4 separate regions of the Homo sapiens genome follow, and all the other regions are linked to region 4. The links are contacts of gene promoters, found by promoter capture Hi-C in blood cells and fetal thymus (Javierre and others, 2016). All regions are on one chromosome and are shown on one strand. Each heading gives the region's core, a stretch centred on a gene start or on the middle of the fragment in contact. The rest is flanking DNA. Distances are from core to core; before and after follow the strand shown.

Region 1 (2,914 bases), core at 63-2,562, 330 kb after region 4:
CAATCTATAAAACCATTTCAAGCAATCAACAGCAACACTAATAACAGAAAACACCTCTTTGGTAAGCGAGAGAAGAAACTTCAGAGACATCAAAAAGTGTTTAATGTGTAGCATGAAGACGTAACCCTTAATGGAAATGGGGTTCTGGAGTAAGGCAATTACCTGAACAAAGATTTCCACACATACAAATTTAAGGATCACGAAGGTCTCCAGCTGTCAGTCTGGAGAAGATCAGAGGCCCCCCGGCCTCCTTCCACCAACCTGCTCATCAATTTCACGCCCCTCTCCCAGCCCATCCCAATTGGGACGTCATAGTCGTGTGCCATCTAGTGGTCAATATGATTACTGCATGTAACTGCCTGGGGCTTTCTGTTTTGGTTTTATTAAGCTTTCACTAACTCATTGTTATAATATGTCTGGTGCTGAGAATATAATAGAGAACACGATAGACACGGCCCTTCCTTCAGGAACCTCACAGTATAGCAGGGTGAATTAAACACATAAAATACAATATGAGAGGTACAATCAAGACATATTAAGGGAGGTAAGGGAGCCCTGAGGAAGGACACCTAATCTAGATTTGGTGATTGGAGGAGGCTTCCCAGAGGGAGGGCCATTAATGCTGGGATCTGAAGGATAAGCAGAAGTTTGTTAAGCAAAGGAGGGGAAGGAAACAGACAGCATTTCAGGCAGAAAGGTGAGGTATGCCTAAAAGCCAGGTGTCAAGAGAGCACAACCAGCTCATGTTGGGTGCAAAGCTTTGTTAAGAACTTTGAACTTGGCAGGGTGCGGTGGCTCATGCCTGTAATCCCAGCACATTGGGAGGCTGAGGCAGGTGGATCACCTGAGGTCAGGAGTTTTAGACCAGCCTGGCCAACATGGTGAAACCCTGTTTCTACTAAAAATACAAAAAAAAAAGTTAGGTGTGGTGACAGGTGCCTGCAGTCCCAGCTACTTGGGAGGATGAGGCAGGAGAATTGCTTGAACCTGGGAGGTGGCGGTTGCAGTGAGCTGAGATTGCACCGTTGTACTCCAGCCTGGGTGACAGAGTGAGACTCTGTCTAAAAAAATAATAATAATAACTTTGAACTTCATTCATGGGGCTGTGAGAGCCATTTCTTTTCAGGGACAAATGAAGAAAGCCTATAGAATTTGAATTTCTCCTGGGCCCTGGCTTATACCTCTTACCTCTTAGAGTCCAGACACTCACAACCCACCCCCTGAAGAGTGGAATGATGTTATTCTTTAAATTTTTGTTTTATTCCCAGGCATGAGTTGCTTATCCACATGCCCTTGATCTCTCCTTTCCCTGTGTCAGCAAAGAAGTTTGTCTAGCGTTGTCATCATTTCTGAGCTAGGGCAGAGCTTCAGCTCCTGCAATAATAGATCTGGCAATGCCAAACTCCTTTCTAGCGCCAAAGTCCTTAATGGGGGAGACAGTGGCTACTGTCAGTGTAAGGTCCTGGGGACCTCATGCTTCAGTATCCCCTGGGGTATTTAACAAAGCAGATTCCCAGACCTTCCCATCCTCACTCAGGGGATGTGGGTCCCTGGAATGGGCTCCTGTGCCCTGGTGATCCTGGGGCTCACTTGGGTTAGAAGCACTGGTGTGGCGATTGGGGCACAGGCCCTGGGGTTAGTTCCCTCCTACAACTCTGTCTAGCCCTGCCTCCCACTGTGTGTGACTCAGCTGTTTGGTCTCAGGCCAGTTACTTCATCTCCCTAAGCCACTGGTTTCTATTCTTGAAAATGGGAATAATAATCATAAAACCTACCCAACAGCATTATTGAGAAGATTCGATGAGATTATGTATGTAATGAGGCTGGCACAGAGTCTGGCAAATAGGAAGTACTCATCAAAGCTTAAAGAACATCAACTGTTGTGTCTGGGACACATTACAGTCATAAAGGGGATGGGAGTTAACACCAGGCCATGGGCTTGGATCCTCAGGGGCTGGAATTTAGAGGGGTGGGTTGCCAAGGGGAGGAGAGAAGACCTAGGGGGTCGGATATCTCACTCAGAGAGGTGTTGAGAGCCAGCAAGCCAGAGAGGCAGACTGCCCCTGGACAGCTGGGAGCAGAGGGTTGTAAGTGCACCGCAGAGTGGGTGGAAATGAAATCTTCATGAAATGCTCAGAGAATCTGACAGGAAGCTTCCCTCTGCTAACACTGCTTTTCAATGACTCTTATCGACACAAACCAGCCAAAGCAAAAGAGGGAATTTTGAGTTTATTTAATTGAAAAGGCCAAGGGTAGATATGAATCTGGTGTAAACACTGCCATCAGGAACCAGTCTCCAATTCTCAGCTCTACTTCTGCCCATCTTAGCTTTGTTCTCAGGCTGGCTTGCTCTATGTATTGACAAAAGTCAACCAGCAGCTCTAAGTGTAGTTCTGCAGGTAACAAGCCCAGCCCAGAGACAGCACCTCTCTCCTGATAGCATCAGCAAAAATCTTGAGGCTGACGTTCATTGGCTTAACTTTGGGCCACTTGCCCATCTCTGAACCAATCACTGTGACCAGAAAAATGGAATTTTCTGATTGGCCAGATCTGTTTCTTGTGTTCAATTTTGCATCCAGGGTTGGTTCAGCCCCACCCAAATTACACGGAGTGAGCATAAAGAGTTCCCTAAATAAAAATAAGGGCCCTGTTTCTGGGAGAAGAGATGGAGGACAAGCCAAACAAAACTGAGGCATCCTCAATTTGCCCATGTGTGAGACACCCTCTTGCCATTGGTCCCTGGAGCCAGGCTGTTCTTGGGCGCCTGAACATCCGTTTTCAGTTCTGCTGCAGCCCCCACAGGCTTGGTCCTTGGGAAGGGGAGTCTTCCAGCACTGGGTAGCAGGCAGGAGTCACCTCCCCCACAGAGAGCAGTGACACCACAGATGGTGCTTGCTGAAAAGGCAGTTCTAGG
Region 2 (2,700 bases), core at 63-2,562, 360 kb after region 4:
ATATGCAAGGAGGCAAACTGTTGTGGACTACGCGATCTCCACATGGAAGATGTCACATCAAAAAATAAAAATAGGCCGGGCGCGGTGGCTCACGCCTGTATTTCCAGCACTTTATGAAGCCGAGGCGAGTGGATCACCTGAGGTCAGGAGTTTGAGACCAGCCTGGCTAACATGGTGAAACCCCATCTCTGTTAAAAACACAAAATTAGCCAGGTGTGGTGGCACATGTCTGCAATCCCAGCTACTCGGGAGGCTGAGACAGGAGAATTGCTTGAACCCAGGAGGCAGAGGCTGCAGTAAGCCGAGATCGTGCCACTGCACTCCAGCCTGGGTAAGACAGAGCGAGACTCTGTCAATAATAATAATAATAATAATAATAATAATAATAAATAAACAAACAAAAACTCTGGTTCCTGGCGGCTTCTCTTGAAATATCAGAATGGTACCACGGCACCCTCCTTCTGATGTGGGAACAGTTGGTTGGAGCCAAGAAGCTACAGCTTTTTAGACTGAGTGTGCATGCTCTGGTCAACACAGTCCCCACCACCCCCTAATGCCTTTCACTTGGCCCTTCCTCTCATCTCCACTAACTGCCTGGCACCATGGGCGTTTCGCATTGATCCCAAAGGCGCTTCCCAGCCGTCCCTTAGCTGATCCCCTGCTGCCACCTGGTGGTCACAGTTCTTCTGTGCCATCAATGCATATCAGTGATATTCCTGGTACATCTACCACCAGGCACACTGATTGTCCCTTATTTAATCCTTTTACCAACCCTGGGAGAACAGGAATTATTGTATCCATTTTACAGATGAGAAAACAGAAAAGGTAAGTTGGGTAATTATAGATAAGAAAAAAAAATGAGCAAGGTTAAGTGAATAAATCATTCAGGATCCCAGATTCCATGATGTTGCCAGAGTGGAATCCAGCTCTTTCCTTTGCCCCAGCCCAGGGTATTTTAGGCTCTGTCCTGCCACACCCTTGAGATGGCCAGAACTCTGCAGTGAGTACTTTTGAGTCTGAGTGGGAGGACAGAGCAGCCTGGGGGCCATCAGCAGATGTCTTCATACATAGAAACCACGGTCCATCCATAGTCAAGACATTTGCTGCTTGCCTATGGCCAAGTAGGTCTTGGACTCAGATTTTTTTTCTTTTTCTTTTTTAAAAAAATAAAAATAAATAAATAAATAAATAAATAAAAACAGGGTCTCCGTCTGTCACCCAGACTGGAGTGTAGCGGCGCAATCACAGCTCACTGCAGCCTCGACCTCCTGGGCTCAAGAAATCCTCCTGGGTAGCTGGGACTACAGGCATGAGGTACTGGGGCCTGGTGTGGACTTAGATTTTCTGAGGCCAAGTGCTGGGCCTTTTCATGCCACCACACTGCCTCCCAGGCCTGAGAAGGCCTCCATCCTGTAGATGACAGAGTAATCCCATAGGATTGCTTTATTTTTATTTTTTTGAGGCAAGAGTCTTGCTTCGTCACCCAGGCTGGTGTTCAATGGCATGGTGATCTCGGCTCACTACAACCTCTGCCTCCCAGTTTCAAGCAATTCTCCTACCTGAGCCTCCCGAGTAGCTGGGATTACAGGCGCACGCCACCATGCCCAGCTAATTTTTTGTATTTTTAGCAGAGACAGGATTTCACCATGTTGGCCAGGATGGTCTTGAACTCCTGACCTCAAGTGATCCATCTGCCTTGCCCTCCAAAGTGCTGGGATTACAGGTGTGAGCCACCACACCCAGCCGGATTACTCTCTCCAATCTTATGTATCCCACAAGGCCCAGCACCTGCACCACCTTCCTCAGGAAACTGCCCCTGGCCACCTCAGCCTTCCCAAATCTCTCCCTTGTCTGAGCACCTATATGCCTGGTCCATAGCACCCCTCTGGGGCTGAGGGCATCTTTTCCTGTAGGGCCAGATAACTGCTTGATGTCTGACTCTCCAGTCGGCCAGGAGAGTCCTTGAAGGCAAGGCTTTGGTGTTCCTATCCTCTCTGGGATGCTTACTAAGCAATATGTATTGAACATCTAGTACTTGAGGCACATGACAAAGGCTTAGGGAGATTCTGGGATGAATCAGAAGTTCTCAGCCTCAAGGAGCATGCAGTTGCCTGTGGGCGCAACAGGCACACAGTCAGAGCCTAGTGATCTTCCCAAAGTACAACCCTGAGCACATCACTCCTCTGTTTCAAACCCTTTCATGCCTCCCCCACTGCCCTCAGAATAAAATCCAAGGCTCCTTTCCATGTTTGCTGCACTTCTGGGCCTCCAAATGTTCTCTCTCTGCCATCTTCACCTAACCACCCACTGGGCCTCAGCTTGGATATCACCTCTTCCAGGAAGCCTTCCTTGGCCGCCAAGTCTGAGACAGAGGTAGGCCTCTTCCCTGGCTTGCGTGGCACCTGCCATTACTTCATCCTGACACTTACACGGCACGTAATTGATGGGTGCCTCATCTGCCTGCCTTAGAGACTGGGATCTGGAAGACCGGGCCTCATCTGTCTGATTTCTTTCTGTATCCCCCAGCAGCTCAGGCCAGCTCCCTGAGGCGTGAAGGGTGTCCATTAAATGGACACCTGAGCAAACAAGATATTATTTTTATATACAGCAAGTGTCTAGCAAACAAATGGCACAGCGGGGCATCTGGCTACCCAATGTTTAGAGTCACACAAATTCCAGAGACTTTCCATCTTTGAAGTC
Region 3 (2,700 bases), core at 106-2,605, 380 kb after region 4:
AGATAGTGAGGCTCAATAAATGTTAGTGGGGGCTATTTTTATCAGGAAAGTGCACTAATAATAATCTCTATGCTGCTGACCACTCAGGAAGATTACAGATGTGGCAATTGTGTAAAGTGCCTGACTTCTTTTTTTGAGAAGGAGTCTCACTCTGTCTCCGGGCTGGAGTGCGGTGGCATGATCTCGGCTCACTGCAACCTCTGCCTCCTGGGTTCAAGCAATTCTCCTGCCTCAGCCTCCTGAGTAGCTGGGACTACAGGTGCACACTGCCATGCCCGGCTAATTTTCTGTATTTTTAGTAGAGACGGGGTTTCATCGTATTGCCCAGGCTGGTCTCAAACTCCTGAGCTCAGGCAATCTGCCTGCCTCGGCCTCCCAAAGTGCTGGGATTACAGGCGTGAGCCACCACGCCTGGCCAAAGTGCCTGACTTCTAAATATTATTCTTGTAAGCTCTACCACCTGCCTAACAAAGAAAGGAGAAAGGAAAGGTTCCACTCACAAATTTCAGGAAGGCCTCAAGGTGAAGGTCTCTTGCCAAATTGCAATACTGCACTGCAGGCCCCTCGGGGATGTCCAGATTGTATTCGTGCGGCCTGAAGTAGAGGAAAGCCTGGACCCAGTACCAAGGAGAAACATCCAATCATGCCTGTCATGGCCATCTTACGCTGGAATCCCCTTCCACCATACCTTGAAGAGGTTTTCCAGGCTCTCTACACACCCCCAATGAGAGGGACACACACAGCTGATTCTATTCTCACACAGCTTAAGTGATTAGAAAGTTCCGCCTTAGACTGAGTCAACATCTTTCTCCTCATTCCAGTGCTTCTTGAACTTCATACATTTACATGCCACCTTTGTGGGGTTTTTTTCTTTTTCTTTTTTTTTTTTTTTGAGACAGAGTCTCACTCTGTCACCCAGGCTGGTGTGCAGTGGCATGATCTTGGCTCATTGCAATCTCTGCCTCCCAGGTTCAAGCAATTCTCCTGCCTCAGCCTCCTGAGTAGCTGGGACTACAGGCGTGTGACACCTTGCCTGGCTAATGTTTTTCGTATTTTTAGTAGACACAAGGTTTCACCATGTTGACCAGGCTGGTCTTGAACTCCTGACCTCAAGTGATCTTCCCGCCTCGGCCTTCCAAAATTCTGGGATTACAGGCGTAAGCCACTGCACCCAGCAGTGCGTTTGTTTTTTCCCATGTCCATATTCCACATGTTCTATTAATACTTTTCTCTAACTTTTCCTATTTACATCAATGCATTAAAAAAATGCCCCATAGCATTTAAATCTTCATTTAATTAGTTGCTCACATTGACGCATCAGGAGATGTCATCAAAAATCTGAAAAATACCTGAATTTCCAGGTGTGTTTTTCTTAAAGTCAGAAGAACTGGGCCCATATTCTCACCCAGCAACAACCCCCCAGAGCTGAGGAATAGCTGCTCCTTTAGATTTGATTCATGTATTCATTCATTCAGCCCTTCAAATTCCAAATATTATTTTATATTTAAGTTCACTGAAAAGTCTCATAAACAGCCTGTTAGACACTAGGCTCCTATTGCATTGGATTGCCTGTTACCTGCACACTTCACTCAGTAGCATTACCTGCCTGGCCCCTTTAGGCACCTGTTTGTCTCCCCTGCTCTAGGTGCTGGTCTGGCAGAGTTGCTCTGCGGGGCTCTGCTTCCAGTGAATTTTGGCCCTATGTGGTAGGAACTCCAATGGGCTCGGAGCTGCCCCCAGTATAATGGCCTGGGGCTGAGGAGTGCTGGCCAGCATTCTCCAGAAGAGATGAGACAGGATGACCTCATCTGGTTGGTTTCTGAGGCTGGTGCCTTTCCCAGCTTGTAGGCTGGGCCCTGCAAGCCTCCTGCCAGGGGAACCCAGCCCAGACTCGCCCTTTATGAACCCTGCAGTGTCCTCACCTGCAGATTGTCCAGGTAAGCAGCCACGTTGTTCTTCAGCTCAGTCACACACAGAGACACCCACTGGAACCTCTCTTCTAAATCATCAAATTCCTTGTCTTCTGTCTGAAAGTAATGTGTGTGAGGGTTGAGAATATCCACATGGGGGCAGTGTACACCGGCTTCAGTGTTCCAGGTCCTCACTGGGACAACCTTTCCACAGACTCGCCCACCAGAGCTGGTTCTCGCAACCCCAAAGCTGAGAGGGTGGTGTAGCTCAGTGGTTTTACATTCAGAGCATGGAATCGGATACACAAGCATGAGCCCCAGTTCATTGGCTTCCTAGCCGTGTGACTCTGGACAAGGGTTTTACCCTCTCGGAGTTTCTGTTTTCTCATGGGGATAGTGGGAACACTTATTTCATTGTGTGAGCATGCTTGGTTTCAGAGCAGGCACTCCACCAACCTGTGCTGCTAGAAGTAGCTATTTAGGGCTGGTCCTTTGCCCAAACCCAGAGACCAGCTCTCCTATCTGTGTAAATAGGCCCCAAAGAGAGTGGCCCAAGACACTGGAGAAACCCCTCCACTGGCTCTTCAGAATCAAGTGGGGTGCCACCTCTGCCTCTTCCCAGCACCTCAATCTCTCAGCCTCCATTGCCTCAGTTCTGAAAGGAGCCTAAGTCCCCTGTCTACCCACTGTGCAGGGCCTGGCCTTGGGGGTGGCTGGATGTGACTCTTCCTCCCAGGCGCACGCTCACCCTGGGGATCAGCCCCGCCTCCTGCTTCAGCAGCTGGCTCAG
Region 4 (2,939 bases), core at 25-2,524:
TGAATTGACTTCTGGGCGGCTGAAAGCCTTGTGGAGAAGGGCAGTAACTGCAGGAGAGCATCTGTAATGAATGGCATATAGGGTACTAAGCACCCTGCGCAAAACGGGTTAGGAAACACTCATTACAGCCACCTTGGGCTGAGGGCAGGAAGACAACACCCTACGGTTTTGTTTGTTTTATTACCCTGTTCTAAGCCTGAGTACAAGTTTGTTATCAGACTCGAGGCAGCAGTATAGCAATGCAAAAAAAGGCAGGACAATTTAAGGTTAAAAACGAAGGGCTCTAGAGGACAGAAAATCCGGGTTCTAGTACAGACTACACCAGTCGCACCAGCACGGGGACCTCTGACCTTAAGCAATCTACTTACCCTAAGTCTCCGTTATTTCATCTGTAAAACAGAGTTAAGGTCAATACCTGAAATATGCGAGACACTTTCTCTGTCCCATCAGATCCTCCTTGGAATCTCACGAGATTGCCTTTGAGGGCTCAGCCATGGGCCACAGTTTGACTCTGGGCTAGCTCCTTTCCCTCATTCTGGGTCATGAATGAAGCAAGAGCCAAACCAGACAAAGTCTTGGTCAAGCTAAGACGTCTGGGACATCCGAATGTCCCATACGGATTGCGGAAGGAGGACACTAAGGCTCAGTGGCCCTACTTTGTGGAAGACTCAGTAGAGGCTCAGAGAGCCGCAGCATCCAACTCGAGGTCGCCCAGCGGCTCGGCGCGGCCCTCGAAGGCGGGACTTACCCGGAGGAGCGTGCAAGCTGCGCCGCTCACATTCCCGGAGGCGCTTGGCCCGGCGGCTGGACGAGGGGGATGGCTGGCGCACTCGCGCTCCCCGCTGTCGGCGAGAGGCGGCTCCAGTCGTGACAGCAGCAACAAGGAAGTGGAGGCGAGGGCTCGCGCGCGCATCCCGGGGGCTGAAGGAGCCCCGGCCCCGCGGCCCCGCCCGGCGACACACGGCGCGGAGTCGCGACAGCCCCTCTCGCTTCCCCTCCTCGGAGTCGCGATATGGGGTCCTGAAGGGCAAGAATAGGAGCACAGGTTCGCTCCGCAGGCTCCTCACCGATGCCTGCCGAGGGCCCCGGGGGTCAAGCCCCGGGGAGCTCGAGGAAGACGGCAGGGACACGGTCGTCACCGAGGCACCGGTTTGGCGGCTGCACCGGCAGTAGCGGCACACCACGGATCGCCAGGGAGACCCGTCCCGGCGGCCCTCGCGGCGCACCGGAAGCGGTCGGCAGCGCGTGACTGCATGCGACCCCTGGCGCAAGCGCAACAGCCCAGCCCTAGCTTGGGAGCGGACCCACACGAACTGCTCAAAGGCTTGGAGCGGGTCTAGTAAGGCGAACGGACTGCTTCCGGCCAGAGGTCCCGGGCGGAGGAGGAAGCTGTGGCTGCCGGCGGTGGGACGCCCCGGCCGCTCAGCCCCCGGGCACTGCTGTGGGGCGTTCAGGTAACAGGGGCGGGGCTGTGCTGAGCGTGAGGGATCTAGGCCCCGCCTCACCTTTCAGAGCCACGTCGGGCGCTGGGAAGCCTACAATACCACCCTCTCCTCAGCACGACGTTCAAGGCCTGACCTCAGCCTGTCTCAGTCTTTCCCTCTCATTCAGGATCGGGTTCATACGTAGTGCCGCATCAAGTAGCGCCTTCATCACTCCAGTGATCTGCCCTCAATCCGTCTCTCCCACTGGCCCACGAATAGTGATGGTAGTGAGTTCCTGGAGTGACTCAAGCTGAGCTGAATGACCGTATGGAGAGCTTCCGTAAATCAAATAGGGATTGGATTGGATTGTCCTTTCTCTCCAGTGTCACAAGTTGTCCACATTTGTACAAGTTCCCGCACAACCCTCACTGTATTCCAGTCTGCCTACTTCTCTGCATCTACCGCCATCACCAACCTTCTAGCCACCATCATCTCCTGCCTGGACTGATGTAGTTCTCCCCACATCCCCTCTACAATCCATTCTCCACGAAGCAGTCAGATTGATCATTTTGCACTGTAAGTCTGATCAAGTCACTCCCTGCTTAAAACCCTCCAGTGTCTCATTCACTTAAAATAAAATTCAGACGTCTTAGCTTGACCAAGACTTGTCTGATTTGGCTCTTGCTTCATTCTCTTTCTATGTCTCCTCTCAATATTAGTAGTTCCCAGAACCAGCTATATAGCACTCTGTAGTGTTTGGAGTGCTAGCTTTGTTGTGAGCCTCCTGGGTTTGAATCCCAGCCCTGCCACAAGTAAGCAATATTAAGCAAGTAAAGTGCTTAACAAATGAGGTTTACGCAGTAGATCCTCCCACCTCAGTAAATGGCACCATCATCTGCTGGATTCCTCAGTGCTCAAACCAGAAACCTGGGCGTTATCCTTGACTCCTCCTTCACCTCACATCCGGTCCAGCACAGGGCTTGCAAAAACATAGCCCCAGACTGACTACTACTCACCATCTCTCTATTACTACTCTAATCCAAGCCACCATTATCTCATGTGGACTCCTGCTTTTTTCTCTGATACCCTTCCATTCTTTACACAGCAGTCATCTCTCCTTCCTTAAAATCCTTCAATAGCTTCCTATTGCACTCAAATTAACATCCAAACTGTATATGGCCTACTGGTTTAGCCTGCTTTTATCTTCAGATTTAAGGCCATCTCTTAGGAAAATCAACTTTACCCATTAGGTTCTCTACCCTGCAACCAAAAGACTATATTGTAAATCTGATCATGTCATTCCAGAAAAACAAAACCAAAAAACCGTCAAAAGCCTCTTAATGCCCCCAAAGCAAGCTAGAAACCTGACTAGGACTTCCTGTGATTTGGTCCTTGCTTTCTTCTCCAAAGAATTTTTTGTTCCTGACCAGGACATTCTATTTCCTATATAGTATTTCATTGCCTTTCATGTTAAATATTTCCTTTCATCTCATGAGTTCCTATTTGTTTATTCTT

What was found. Contacts are between HindIII fragments. The CHiCAGO score rates a contact against its expected background, and 5 or more counts as called.
Region 1: a fragment that was not itself captured here is called in contact with the fragment with the promoter of TIGD6 in region 4 in 4 of 17 cell types (erythroblasts, endothelial precursors, M1 macrophages and 1 more); the score reaches 10.5 in erythroblasts.
Region 2: a contact is called between a fragment that was not itself captured here and the fragment with the promoter of TIGD6 in region 4, in 16 of 17 cell types (erythroblasts, M2 macrophages, M0 macrophages and 13 more). The highest score is 19.3, in erythroblasts.
Region 3: a contact is called between a fragment that was not itself captured here and the fragment with the promoter of TIGD6 in region 4, in 6 of 17 cell types (erythroblasts, M0 macrophages, M2 macrophages and 3 more). The highest score is 14.2, in erythroblasts.

The regions. Positions count from the first base shown.
Region 1 is chr5:149,665,137-149,668,050 of GRCh38, reverse strand. No RefSeq gene overlaps it. Among named protein-coding and RNA genes, the nearest start is that of PPARGC1B, 64 kb to the left of the region's middle. The HindIII fragment of the contact is 1,104 bases long and covers 761-1,864 here.
Region 2 is chr5:149,634,952-149,637,651 of GRCh38, reverse strand. LOC124901104 reads left to right here. Exons shown (of 3, transcript XR_007058990.1): 3 at 1-409. It overlaps ARHGEF37 (Rho guanine nucleotide exchange factor 37), which reads right to left. Exons shown (of 13, transcript NM_001001669.3): 13 at 2,684-2,700. Among named protein-coding and RNA genes, the nearest start is that of ARHGEF37, 55 kb to the right of the region's middle. The HindIII fragment of the contact is 4,308 bases long and covers 1-2,700 here.
Region 3 is chr5:149,618,265-149,620,964 of GRCh38, reverse strand. ARHGEF37 (Rho guanine nucleotide exchange factor 37) reads right to left here. Exons shown (of 13, transcript NM_001001669.3): 6 at 2,659-2,700; 7 at 1,923-2,027; 8 at 501-611. Among named protein-coding and RNA genes, the nearest start is that of ARHGEF37, 38 kb to the right of the region's middle. RefSeq lists an enhancer at 2,607-2,700. The HindIII fragment of the contact is 5,427 bases long and covers 1-2,700 here.
Region 4 is chr5:149,998,989-150,001,927 of GRCh38, reverse strand. It overlaps TIGD6 (tigger transposable element derived 6), which reads left to right and starts at 1,274. Exons shown (of 2, transcript NM_030953.4): 1 at 1,274-1,454. HMGXB3 (HMG-box containing 3) reads right to left here and starts at 1,189. Exons shown (of 20, transcript NM_014983.3): 1 at 749-1,189. RefSeq lists enhancers at 295-374, 1,262-2,050 and a silencer at 1,455-1,534. The HindIII fragment of the contact is 5,274 bases long and covers 1-2,939 here.